Linked DNA regions of Homo sapiens: all the other regions are linked to region 4. The links are contacts of gene promoters, found by promoter capture Hi-C in blood cells and fetal thymus (Javierre and others, 2016). All regions are on one chromosome and are shown on one strand. The core of a region is centred on a gene start or on the middle of the fragment in contact, and the rest is flanking DNA. Distances in the headings are between cores, read along the strand shown.

What was found. The method cuts DNA at HindIII sites, captures the fragments that hold promoters and counts their contacts. A CHiCAGO score of 5 or more calls a contact.
Region 1: a contact is called between a fragment that was not itself captured here and the fragment with the promoter of ADAMTS8 in region 4, in 1 of 17 cell types (M0 macrophages). The highest score is 6.0, in M0 macrophages.
Region 2: a fragment that was not itself captured here is called in contact with the fragment with the promoter of ADAMTS8 in region 4 in 1 of 17 cell types (naive CD8 T cells); the score reaches 5.1 in naive CD8 T cells.
Region 3: a contact is called between a fragment that was not itself captured here and the fragment with the promoter of ADAMTS8 in region 4, in 1 of 17 cell types (M0 macrophages). The highest score is 5.4, in M0 macrophages.

What each region holds. Positions count from the first base shown.
Region 1 is chr11:130,675,965-130,678,664 of GRCh38, forward strand. All of the region lies in intron 1 of LINC02873 (long intergenic non-protein coding RNA 2873), which reads left to right. Among named protein-coding and RNA genes, the nearest start is that of LINC02873, 4.4 kb to the left of the region's middle. The HindIII fragment of the contact is 2,576 bases long and covers 60-2,635 here.
Region 2 is chr11:130,203,442-130,206,141 of GRCh38, forward strand. The region is part of intron 16 of ST14 (ST14 transmembrane serine protease matriptase); the gene reads left to right. Among named protein-coding and RNA genes, the nearest start is that of ST14, 45 kb to the left of the region's middle. The HindIII fragment of the contact is 5,888 bases long and covers 1-2,700 here.
Region 3 is chr11:130,650,176-130,652,875 of GRCh38, forward strand. No RefSeq gene overlaps it. Among named protein-coding and RNA genes, the nearest start is that of MIR8052, 15 kb to the right of the region's middle. The HindIII fragment of the contact is 8,367 bases long and covers 1-2,700 here.
Region 4 is chr11:130,427,216-130,429,915 of GRCh38, forward strand. It overlaps ADAMTS8 (ADAM metallopeptidase with thrombospondin type 1 motif 8), which reads right to left and starts at 1,394. Exons shown (of 9, transcript NM_007037.6): 1 at 352-1,394. The coding sequence starts at 1,071. The HindIII fragment of the contact is 10,262 bases long and covers 1-2,700 here.

The DNA.
Region 1 (2,700 bases), core at 98-2,597, 250 kb after region 4:
GGATTCTGACTTTTTGTTCACAATCTGTGGAACTCTGTGAAAGGCACTTTACCTTTCTAAGCTTTAGTGCCCTCACTGGAAAACAGAGATAAATATGCGGCAAATATTAAGTTCCTTTTCTGGACTGGCACATGCTATTTTTGGTTCTGAGTACATAGCTGGGAATGAAACAAACCAAGCCCCTTGGCCCAAGGCATAGAACTTACATCCCAGTGTGTGAAGGATAATATCAGTGCTTCTGAGGTTATTGTAAGGATTCAAAGAGACAAAAAATGTGAATGTAAGCCCAGTTCCTGGCAGAGTAGATATCTAATAAATGGTAACAGCAATTACAATTATTACTTTATGTTCCAAATGTCAGTCTCCACAAAGAAGGCCAACTCCTGGGGTATAAGGGTTCCGTCTCAGTTTCCTTACCAGTACCCCAGTATATAGGACCCCCAGGAAGCCCTGACAATCTTTGGTGCTCAGAGTCCTGCCCTAACCTACTGTCAAACCCTTAGTTCTTGCTTCTGAATTCATCCGACAACCTATTGACTGATCTGTATGCTACCTTTATTTCTCTGCTGGGACTCCTTTGGAGAGCCTGAAAGGTGGTCTTGCTGGGATTGGAGACCCCCTGTCAGCCCACTTTGTCCTGCAGCTCGGATCATCCCAGTGGCCTGCTTAGCTCCTTTGTGCTCCCCTGGCTTCTGAGCCACAGCCATTAGATACTGGCTCTGGCCTGCCATTTGGCTCCTGACCCCTCATGTGGGGTTGGTTTTCTCTCTCCTGCCCAGCCCCAGCCCTGCCTGGCCCCTCTTGAGCTGCCAATGATTCAATTCCTCTTAATAGTCCAGCAAAAGCCCTTAGAGCTGGAAGCAGTTATACCCTGCCTTGGTCTCAACCATGGCGAAGCCCATGGTCCATTCTGAAGTAACAAGACTCACACGTAGGGAGAGAAGCCCTTGACTTCAAGGAACCACCCACTCTGTACTCTTCCCACCCTCCCCTCACATATGAAGCAGGGTGAGCCATGACTTGGGTTGATGGGTGTCATGGCAGCTTTTAGAAAGGAGAGGAAATGGGAATTTGAATGACCCATGTACACATAGCGGAATGCTGCAATCACATGCCTTTCCTCTCACTGCCAAATCTCAGTGGTGTTCTTACAAATTTTTCCTAATATATTCCTAATATATCCCCATTCAACTCCCAGGCTCTCCAAAGCAGAGGATATTGGGACTGGAAAATGAGCAATATATGTTTAAGGGAGTATGTTTCTGTATAAGAAGCCGATTTCTGAATAGTTCATCCCTCCTCGTCTTCTCTTTAGTAAAGATAACTGAGACTCAGGTAATGATGGCCAAGAATTATGAAGCACTCAGAGATCCTGTTCTAAGTAGTTTACATCTATTAATTTATGTAAGCCTCAAAACAACCCTATGAGGTAGGCACTATCAACATTCACTTTATTTCAGAGGAAGAAACCAAAGCACCAAGAGCTTAAGTAATTCGTCTTAGGACACAGAGTAGGGATAACAATGCTGGCAACCTGGCTCCTGAGCCATTATGCAGTACCACCTATGATCTACTTTCTGTTTAGTAGCCCAAACAAGAGAAATGTCTTTTATCTTATCTCAGGCAAGAGCAGTAATTTAACACGAGTATGCATTCCAGCCACATTTTGTTGTCAGAAACCGTTACCAGGGGCAGCAATGGAATGTGAGGCATGATGGTATGTGCCAGGCTGTGGTTTCTCTCCCTGTTGCATCAGGACACCTCCTTTCTCTCTTCCCTTGGAAAGTTAGGCAGCAGCCTGCTGTCTCTCCTCAGTGGCAGCCTCTGTGCATCCAGCTGGGGAGGCCCTCTCTTTGCTCAGATTGTCTCTTTTCAAAAGAACTTGGTTCCCAGAAGATTTGTAAATCAAGGTGTACTTGAAGGGGAAGCAATCATTCTGATTGGTAAATCGGGGATCAGGAACTGAGCAAGCGCAGCTCAGCCCCTCCCCTCTCTTCATGCTCCTTGTATCTACCTGAGGCACTAACATTCTGCTCTGCTTCTGCAGCAGAGATTTTAGAGGGTAGGTTCTGCTTTTGCTGATGGGCTGGAACTGCTATGGCTGAGTGGTTAAGTCTGTTGAATTTCAGAACTTGGTGTTAGGAAGCCTGTTATTGCTGCAAATTTAGGTTACGTTTTCGAACAGTTTTGTCAGTAATTAAGTTGATATTTGGATCTTCCAGTCTCAGTTGGTTCTAAACACAGACAAAGAAAAGAGCAGGTAATTATTGTTCACCCCTCATTCCTAACCATTTCCTTTCCTATCACTGCAGTTGGCTGAATTGGTCAAGAGATATAGTTCAAAAATACATAGGTACATTTACACAAATATATGTAGAGAGCTAAAAACCAATAATCACAAGTATTTCAAGGAAGGTTGCATGTGGTGGTTTCATTACTTCTATCAGCTGAGTCTACTGTGTTTGAAAGCTAAAATCTGAGAAGGCTGAGTGTTCCAAAGTAAATTATCTATTGTCTGTGGGGCTAAGTTGTCTTTTAAAGCTGTCTTTTCAAGTAGGCAGAATGGATTGCAGAAATAGGAAAAGAGCAGTGGTAGTGCCAAAAGAATGCTGGTCTTGGGTCAAAAACAAATATAAGCTTTGATTAGCCTAGATTTGGTGACCCCATAACTTAGCACACAGGAAATAATTAATTAGAAAG
Region 2 (2,700 bases), core at 40-2,539, 220 kb before region 4:
CACTCGAGCCCAGAGGGGCCTTCCCCAAATCTGATCACCCCAATCTCTTGCTTCAGCGCCTGCCACGGCTTGCAGTATAAAGCAGGAACTCCTTCACGACCGACACGGCCACGTTATCTGGCCCCTGCCCGTCCGTGCAGTCTCAGTCTCCAGTGCAGTCCTCATGCCTTCCCCATGCTCAGTGTGAGGGTTTCCTAAATGTGCCTTTGCTCTTTTTTCTTTTTTTTTGAGACCGAGTTTCACTTTTGTTGCCCAGGCTGGAGTGCAATGGCGCGATCTCAGCTCACTGCAACCTCCGCCTCCCGGGTTCAAGCAATTCTCCTGCCTCACCCTCCCGAGTAGCTGGAATTACAGGCATGCGCCACCGTGCCCGGCTAATTTTTTGTACTTTTAGTAGAAACGGGGTTTCACCATGTTAGCCAGGCTGGTCTTGAACTCCTGACCACGGGTGATCTGCCTGCCTTGGCCTCCCAAAGTGCTGGGATTATAAGGTGTGAGCCACCACGCCCGGCCACCTTTGTTCTCTTTAAACATGCGGCATTCTCCACCCCTTCAGGCCATAGGTGGCCAGGCCTACGTGATGTCGAGGCTTGGTTCATAACTCACTTCGTTTCCGGACTCCCAGCCCATCCTCTCCCACAGCTTTCTACCCAGTCCTCTGTGGGACCCTTCTTGTCACGCTGTAATTGGTGGTTTTCATATCTCTCCACATGTACACTGTGAACCTGAAGGCTGGGTCATAGATCGCATCACAGATGCCCAGAGATTGTTGAGTGAATGAGTTGATGGGGGTTGAGTACGTGGCTGGATGTGAGCAGGCTGGGAAACTGTTAGAAAGGTCAGGTCGATTAACAGTGAACGCAGAAGGCCTGGGTGGGTCACAAGACCTCACCTGGCAACTCTTGGGAATTCTTTTAGGCTGTGGAATGGGACGCAAAGGATCTCACAAAAACAGCTTTTGGGAAGTCATTTTCTGGTGGCAACAGATTACAGTGAAGCGAGATTGGGCATAGCCTAGGTTGGAAAACTGAGCTTTGGCCTTGGCGTGCGATTCCGTGGGGAGGTGGCTGTAAGAAAGGCCAGAAGGGGGCCTGGCGCGGTGGCTCATGCCTATAATCCCAGCACTTTGGGAAGCCGAAGCAGGCAGATCACCTGAGGTCAGGAGTTCGAGACCAGCCTGACCAACATGGTGAAACCCCATTTCTACTAAAAATACAAAAATTAGCTGAGCATGGTGGCATGCACCTGCACTCCCAGCTACTTGGGGGCGGCTGAGGTGGGAGGATCGCTTGAGTCTGGGAGGCGGAGGTTGTGGTGAGCCAAGATCATGCCACTACACTCCAGCCTAGGCAACAGAGTAAGACTCCATCTCAAGAAAAAAGAAAGGCCAGAAGGTGATGGACGCTGGGGCAGTGAGAGTGGACCAGGGCTCGGGTGGGCACGCGAGTGATGTGGAGGCAGAGGCTGGGTTTAGTGCTCCGGGGTCGGGGAGGTGCCCTGGCTGGGTGGTTCAGTAACCTTTTGACCTTCCTGAGAGGTGAGGGAAAATGAAGCGGGTCTTCATGCCTTTCTCTTGTCACGCACATTTTCTATTTTAAATATGTATTTTTCCAATGTTTTATTTTGAAATTTTTCAAACCTACAAAAATGTTGTAAATACAATGAATGAAAAAAAGGACTAGTACAGTGAACACTTTTTTTTTTGAGACAGAGTCTCACTCTGTCCCCAGGCTGGAGTGCAGCAGCGTGATCTCAGCTCACTGCAACCTCTGCCTCCCGGCTTCAAGCAATTCTCCTGCCTCAGCCTCCGGAGTAGCTGGGACTACAGGTGTGCGCCACCTTGCCCGGCTAAATTTTTGTATTTTTAGTGGAGATGGGGTTTCACCATGGTGGCCTGCCTGGTCTCGAACTCGTGACCTCGTGATCCCCCCATGCCTTGGCCTCCCAAAGTGCTGGGATTACAGGTGTGAGCCACCGCACCTGGCTGTACAGTGAACACTCTTATACCTTTGATCTACATTCAGTGATTGAGTTAATCACGTTTGCTTTCTCTCTGTTTGCACCCGCATGTATTTTTCAGAACCATTTCCCAACTGGGGGCAGCCATTGTGAGGCTTCCCACCAGGTGCCTCGGCCTGTGTCTCCAAAAACACGGATGCTGTCCCACACTGAGAAATGGCGGCATTGCTTTGTGCTGCGAGCTGACGTACGCGTCATAAATGTCCTCCAATCATGCCCATCATGTTCTTCTTTAGACGTTTTTTTTTTTGTTTTTTTTTTTGAGACGCACTCTTTCGCCCAGTCTGGAGTGCAGTGGCACAATCTAAGCTCACTGCAACCTCCACCTCCCAGGTTCAGGTGATTCTCTTGCCTCAGTCTCCTGAGTAGCTGGAATTACAGGCACCTGCCACCACGCCTGGCTAATTTTTGTATTTTTAGTAGAGACGGGGTTTCACCACGTTGGCCAGGCTGGTCTCAAACTCCCAACCTTGTGATCCTCTCGCCTGGGGCTCCCAAAGTGCTAGGATTACAGGCGTGAGCCACCATGCCCAGCCTTCTTCGGAGCTTTTTAAAAAAAGTCCTAGGATGCAGTCAAGGGTCACGCCTTGTATTTAGTCATTAGGTTTCTTTAACCTCATTTTAATCAAGAACAGTTTCTCTACGCCTTTTATTTTTTGGTTTTTTATGGCATTGACATTT
Region 3 (2,700 bases), core at 32-2,531, 220 kb after region 4:
AGTGCTCTGTGACTTCCAGTTTTCTGGCAAATTCACCGTTGCCCGGCATGAGCCCTCCAAGTGCCCTTCTTGTGGTTAGCTCCAAAGCTGAATGTCTGTGTGCAAGCCCCTTAATAGAATCTAGACAAGATCAGGCCTCTCCCTCTGCCAAACCCCTTTCTGTGTGGACACAGTTTCTTGACGGCCCAATCTGTAAGACTGGACAATGGAGAAAGTCAGCGTTTAAGAGGTTAATGCCCCTCGCCCGATTGCCCCACTTCTCTCCTTCCTGGGTGGTGTGAGTTGGGGCCTCTCAGAGACTGAAGTCTAGAGGGCCCTCAGGCATTCAGGCCCTCCGAGCCCAAACAGTTCCACATGGCATGTGGGTTTTGATGTGAGAAGCTGCACATAGGAGATGAGTGTGTTGCTATTTATCAGACACTAAACTCCTTGCTCAGAAAAGCCAAGCCCCTGCACTCTCGCCCCATTAGAGTTGCTGACCATGAAACATACTCATCCGCGGAGCCACAGATAACTGCGGGTGGAAGTTGAGACCCTCGATGACCTCTGTGGCAGGTACTGTGTCAGGCACTCCACTCTGGGCAGTAGATAACACCACCACCATTTTACCAATGAGGAAATGGACTCAGATTAAGTGGTATGTTTGGTGTCACAGTAAGCAAGCAGTGAAGCTAGGCTTTGATCCCAAGTTTCTCTGACTCACTCCAAAGACCAGAGTCCTTCCTCTGATGCTTCACAGCTTAACAACATGCAGATACATGACATGTTCCAATCTCAACTTCATCCTCTGTGGACTCAGAATTAGGATGGCGTGATAGATTGTTAAATATGACCACAGATTCCTCCCATCCCCGTGTGCATGTCCTGTGCACGGCAAGTTTGCTGTTTCTGCCACCATGAAGTGGAGGCTTACTTCACTCCTTCAAACTGGGCTTGGCCAGGGAGCTAGTTTTGGTGAACGTGATGTTAGCAAATGTGATGGGACATGAGGCTTGCCAGGTGCTTGTGCATTGGGACTTGCCTTCTCTTGCTGCTGCAGACCCTTCCTCCCCCACAGAGCAGCTAGAGGCATAAAGCGTAGGCAGCAGCTAGCACCAACTGCCAGGAGGGCAGATGATGCCATCTTAGACCAGCCAGCCCCCAGCTGATCCTCCAGCTGACTAGAGCTGCATGAATGATTCAGGAGAGACTAGGAGAAGAACTGCTCAGCTCAACCCAACTTAATTATGTATAGATTTGTGAGCTGATAAATCACTGGGCTGGCTTGTTATACAGCAATAACTGGTATGGAGGGTAACACCCTCCCTTGGGCATAGGAACTGCAGAGGTGCATGTGTGCGCACACACACACACACACACACACCATCCCATGTTGATTTAGCTACTTGGTTGATTTCACTACTTGGGAGAAGGCCGACCACTAAACGCTCAGAGAGTGCCCCACCTGGATGGCTGTGCCTTTGTTTCCTATCTTTCTGTCACTTCCCATTACTTTCTTGTTTCAGACTCTTTGTGCCAAAGTCCCTGTGTTGGCGGGGGGTTGGGGAGGGGGCTGGTGATCGAGGGGGTGGCACTCAGCATTTCGCTGGGACTCATTGCCCCTCTATAGGATAATGGGATAATGGATTAGTTCTCTCGCTCATTGTTGGGCCTTGCACATTCTAGAGCCTCAGACCTTGCAAGAATTCACTGTTTTTCCTTCTTTCCGTTAAGCTCTGGGTTCAGCGGTTTTTGCTGGGTTTTGGGGAGGAGAGGATAGTGGGAGTGACAGGAAGATAGACTCTGATTTCCCCATGAACGAGGATGAGATGAGCTAGAAAATGATGAAGAACTTCCACTCCAGGGTAGAGTTGATTTGTCTATAAGAATAAAGATTAATTTCTCCCATACTCATTCTGCCCTCTGCTCATCTAGTTTTTTTTTTTTTTTTTTTTTTTTGAGACGGAGTCTCCCTCTGTCGCCCAGGCTGGAGTGCAGTGGCGTGATCTCTGCTCCCTGCAAGCTCCGCCTCCCAGGTTCACGCGATTCTCCTGCCTCAGCCTCCTGCATAGCTGGGACTACAGGTGCCCGCCACCACGCCACCACACCTGATTAATTTTTAATAGAGACAAGGTTTCACCGTGTTAGCCAGGATGCTCTCGATCTCCTGACCTCGTGATCTGCCCGCCTTGGCCTCCCACAGTGCTGGGATTACAGGCATGAGCCACCGCCCCCGGCCTGCTCATCTAGTTTTTAAGAGAAGTTTGTATTCCCCTTATCCTTATGAATGTAACATAGGCCTTATTTCTTATGAATAAAACCCTTGTCTAATTAAGTTTTCTGTCTGGTAAAAACAATGCCAAAGGTATAAATGTCCCTTCCCTCCCAATAATAGACCTGTTGATTGAGTAGGTTTATTGTTGTTATTATTATGTGATGTTAATGCACCTAAGCAGTGTCTTAGATTGTCCAAAGAAAGCATCAACGTATCTCAGATTATCCATGTTTCGTACTTTTTTAAAAAAGAAAGTAAGACGTGGTTTGATATTTTTGCTGAAATCACCCAGCAACCATCTACAACAAGGGATGGTGAACTTTCTATAAAGGGAAAGACAGTAAATATTTTAGGCCTGGCTTTCATGTGGTTACTAACCGAACTACTACACTGCTGTCGTAGCATGAGGGCAGCTGTAGGCAGCAGTAAATGAATGAGCATGGCTG
Region 4 (2,700 bases), core at 144-2,643:
GAGAGGCAGGTGCCGGGGAATGCGTTGATACCCACTTTCGGGTCAGTGCGCCACGTGCCGCGGGAGATTCGGATGAGAGGGATGGGCGTCGGCAGCCCCACTCTAAACTGGAAGGGACCTGGGGGTGGGGGCGCAGGGATCCAGGGTGGCAGAAGTTCAGAAAAGAGTTACTGCTCTTTCTCAGACAGGAGAGAATCTCGTTTGGGGTAAGGCTGGAGAAGATGAGTGGGGAGGGCTTTTTTTTTTTTTTTTTTTTTTTCTCAGAGGGATTGGAAGGGGAGATTTTAGAGACGCTGGGAGGCGTCTGGGGGGCCTCCGGGCACGGCGGCTGGAGGAGGCTCTCAGTCCTACCTGCAGGTCGGCCCCGTAGAAGGCAGCCATGGACGCATCGGCCACCAGCAGCGTCTCCACGAAGCGCGCCTCAGACACAAACCGCTTGGTCCTACTCGTGGCCCCCAGGGGCGGTGGCGGCTCGCTAGCGCCTTCTGCCTCCTCTTCTTGGCTCTCCTCCTCGCTGTCCTCCTGGTGGTCTCCTCTCTCCTGCCTCTGACCCTCTCCCGTCTCCACCTCCCACTCGGGTCCTCGCGGGAGGGGGCGGGCTCCGGCGGGACCCCAGCGCTGCAGGCGGTGCGGCTGAGCCAGGGAGCCCCCCGCGCCCTGCGGCTGGATGGTGAACTCCTCGCCGTCCAGCAGGAAGGAGCCGCTCAGCCCGCGGCACAGGCTGACCGCCGCCAGCGACTCGGGCTCCCCATTCACGGTGCCGGAGAAGAAGCAGCCGCGCAGCCCCCGCTCGCCCCCGGTCGCCCGGCCGGAGCCCCCGAGGCGCTCGATCTTGAACTCGGGCGCTAGGAAGCTGTCGTCGGGCGCCAGGCGCAGCACGAAGCCCTTGCCGAAGGCGGACAGGTGGAGCGCGAGCTCGCCCGCGCTGCCGGGCAACCGCGTGGGCACCACCAGCTCCGAGGCCTGCCCCCCGGCTGCGGGCCGGGCCGGGGCGCCGCGGGCCAGCGGCAGCAGCAGCAGCAGCAGCAGCAGGAGCGGAGGCCACCGGGGGGCGGCGGGGGCGGGGAGCATGGGGGCTGCGGCGGTGGCTGCGCGCAGGAGAGGGAAGAAGCCCGCCAGGCGCGGGCAGGTGCTGGCGGCCCGAGCGCGGCCCGGCCGCTCTCTCCAGGAAAAGCGGAATCAATCGGGTGCAAGGCCGACTCGGCCCGCGGGGCCCGGCGGCGGGAGCGCTCCCCCGGCGGCCCCTCTGGCTGGCGCAGCCCGCTCCTCCCGCGCCGCCGCCCCCGAGCCGAGCGCGAGCAGCTGGCCCCGGCCCGCGTGCGCCCGTCCTCCGCCCCTGCCCGCGCCAGCCCCGCGCAGCCGCCTCCTGCCTCCTCCCCACCCCGGGAAGCACCGAGTGGGCTGCCGAGCCCTTCTTATTTATACTTCCTTCCCGGCTTGACATAAGAGGTTTATTTTTGATCTCTCACTATTCCCGTTTCCCCTCCCCTGGGATCAGAGAGAGAAACTGAAAAGAGGGAGAGAGAGTGGAGAAAAAAAAATTGGGATGAAATGCAAAACCAATCAGGCAGCGAGACCCGTCCGCCACCCGCCCCCCTGAAGTGTCAACTACAACTTCTTTCCTTTCCCTCTACGCGTGGACCCACGTTAACCCCTACCATGCTGGACTGACCCTTTAGAAAGAGTCCCTGGGAGACCCCAACCGCTTTCTCCTCTGCGGCCAAGAGTCCAGGATGCATCTTCCGAAGAGGCTCGTGCACTGGTCTCAGCGACCCTGTTCGGATCCCTGCAGAGTCCGACTGCAGAGCCCGACACTGTTGGGATCCCTGCAGATGCCTCCGGAGATCCGACTGTGTGGGGAGAAGGTTCCTGAGCTTTTCATTGTAAAGCATAAAGGGAGAGGAGGAAAAGGTCATGCTAAAATCATGCCCTCCTCTCATCACTACTGCACAGCCTTCCTAACTTTCACTCCAAACTGAAGATGGGGAAAACAAAAACAAAACAAAAAACAACCCACCTGGTTAACCCTAAGAGGGACTCTCACTGTCCTGTTAGAGGGCAGGTGGGGCAGAGGCCAGCACAGTGGTAAGTTACCAGCACTGAGGTTGGAAGTTAGCATTTCCCCAAGAGGGAAACAGACCTCCAGTCCCTGAAAAAGGTCTTCTCTTCTGGATACTGCTAGTTGCCCGGGACTTCAAGTAAGGTGGCAGGCCCTTTCACTGCGTTGCCACAGCCCCAGGAACAAATGTGTATGAGGTGAATTTATTCTGTCCCATGTCACCACTGCCCCCTAGGGAAGGGGGTAGTATTCAGGAAGAGAGGGATGACATGGTCTCAAGACCACAAAACTGCATCCCATCCCAGTCTCAATGACACAGGTCTGGATTGGGTGGAGGGCCCTGTTCTCTACCTACAAACTCTAGACTCATCCACCAACTGTGCCTTTCTCTGAGTTGTCAATGTGGGTGATGCATTAGGAACCGCTGGGATCAGGGCCTTTAAATCCTTTGCCAATTCACCTGCCCCCAGGTACCCAGCTCTGTGCTTATGCTGGGGATGTTGACAGTCGAGGTCATCGCTGATTCTTTTCAGCCCATCTGACCCCTTCCTGCAGTGTGGTGGTTCAGCATGCATCTGAGACTCTCAGGGCTTGTTACCTCCAAAGAGGAGGCTCTTGCCCAGGGGAAAGTGCTGCCAAAT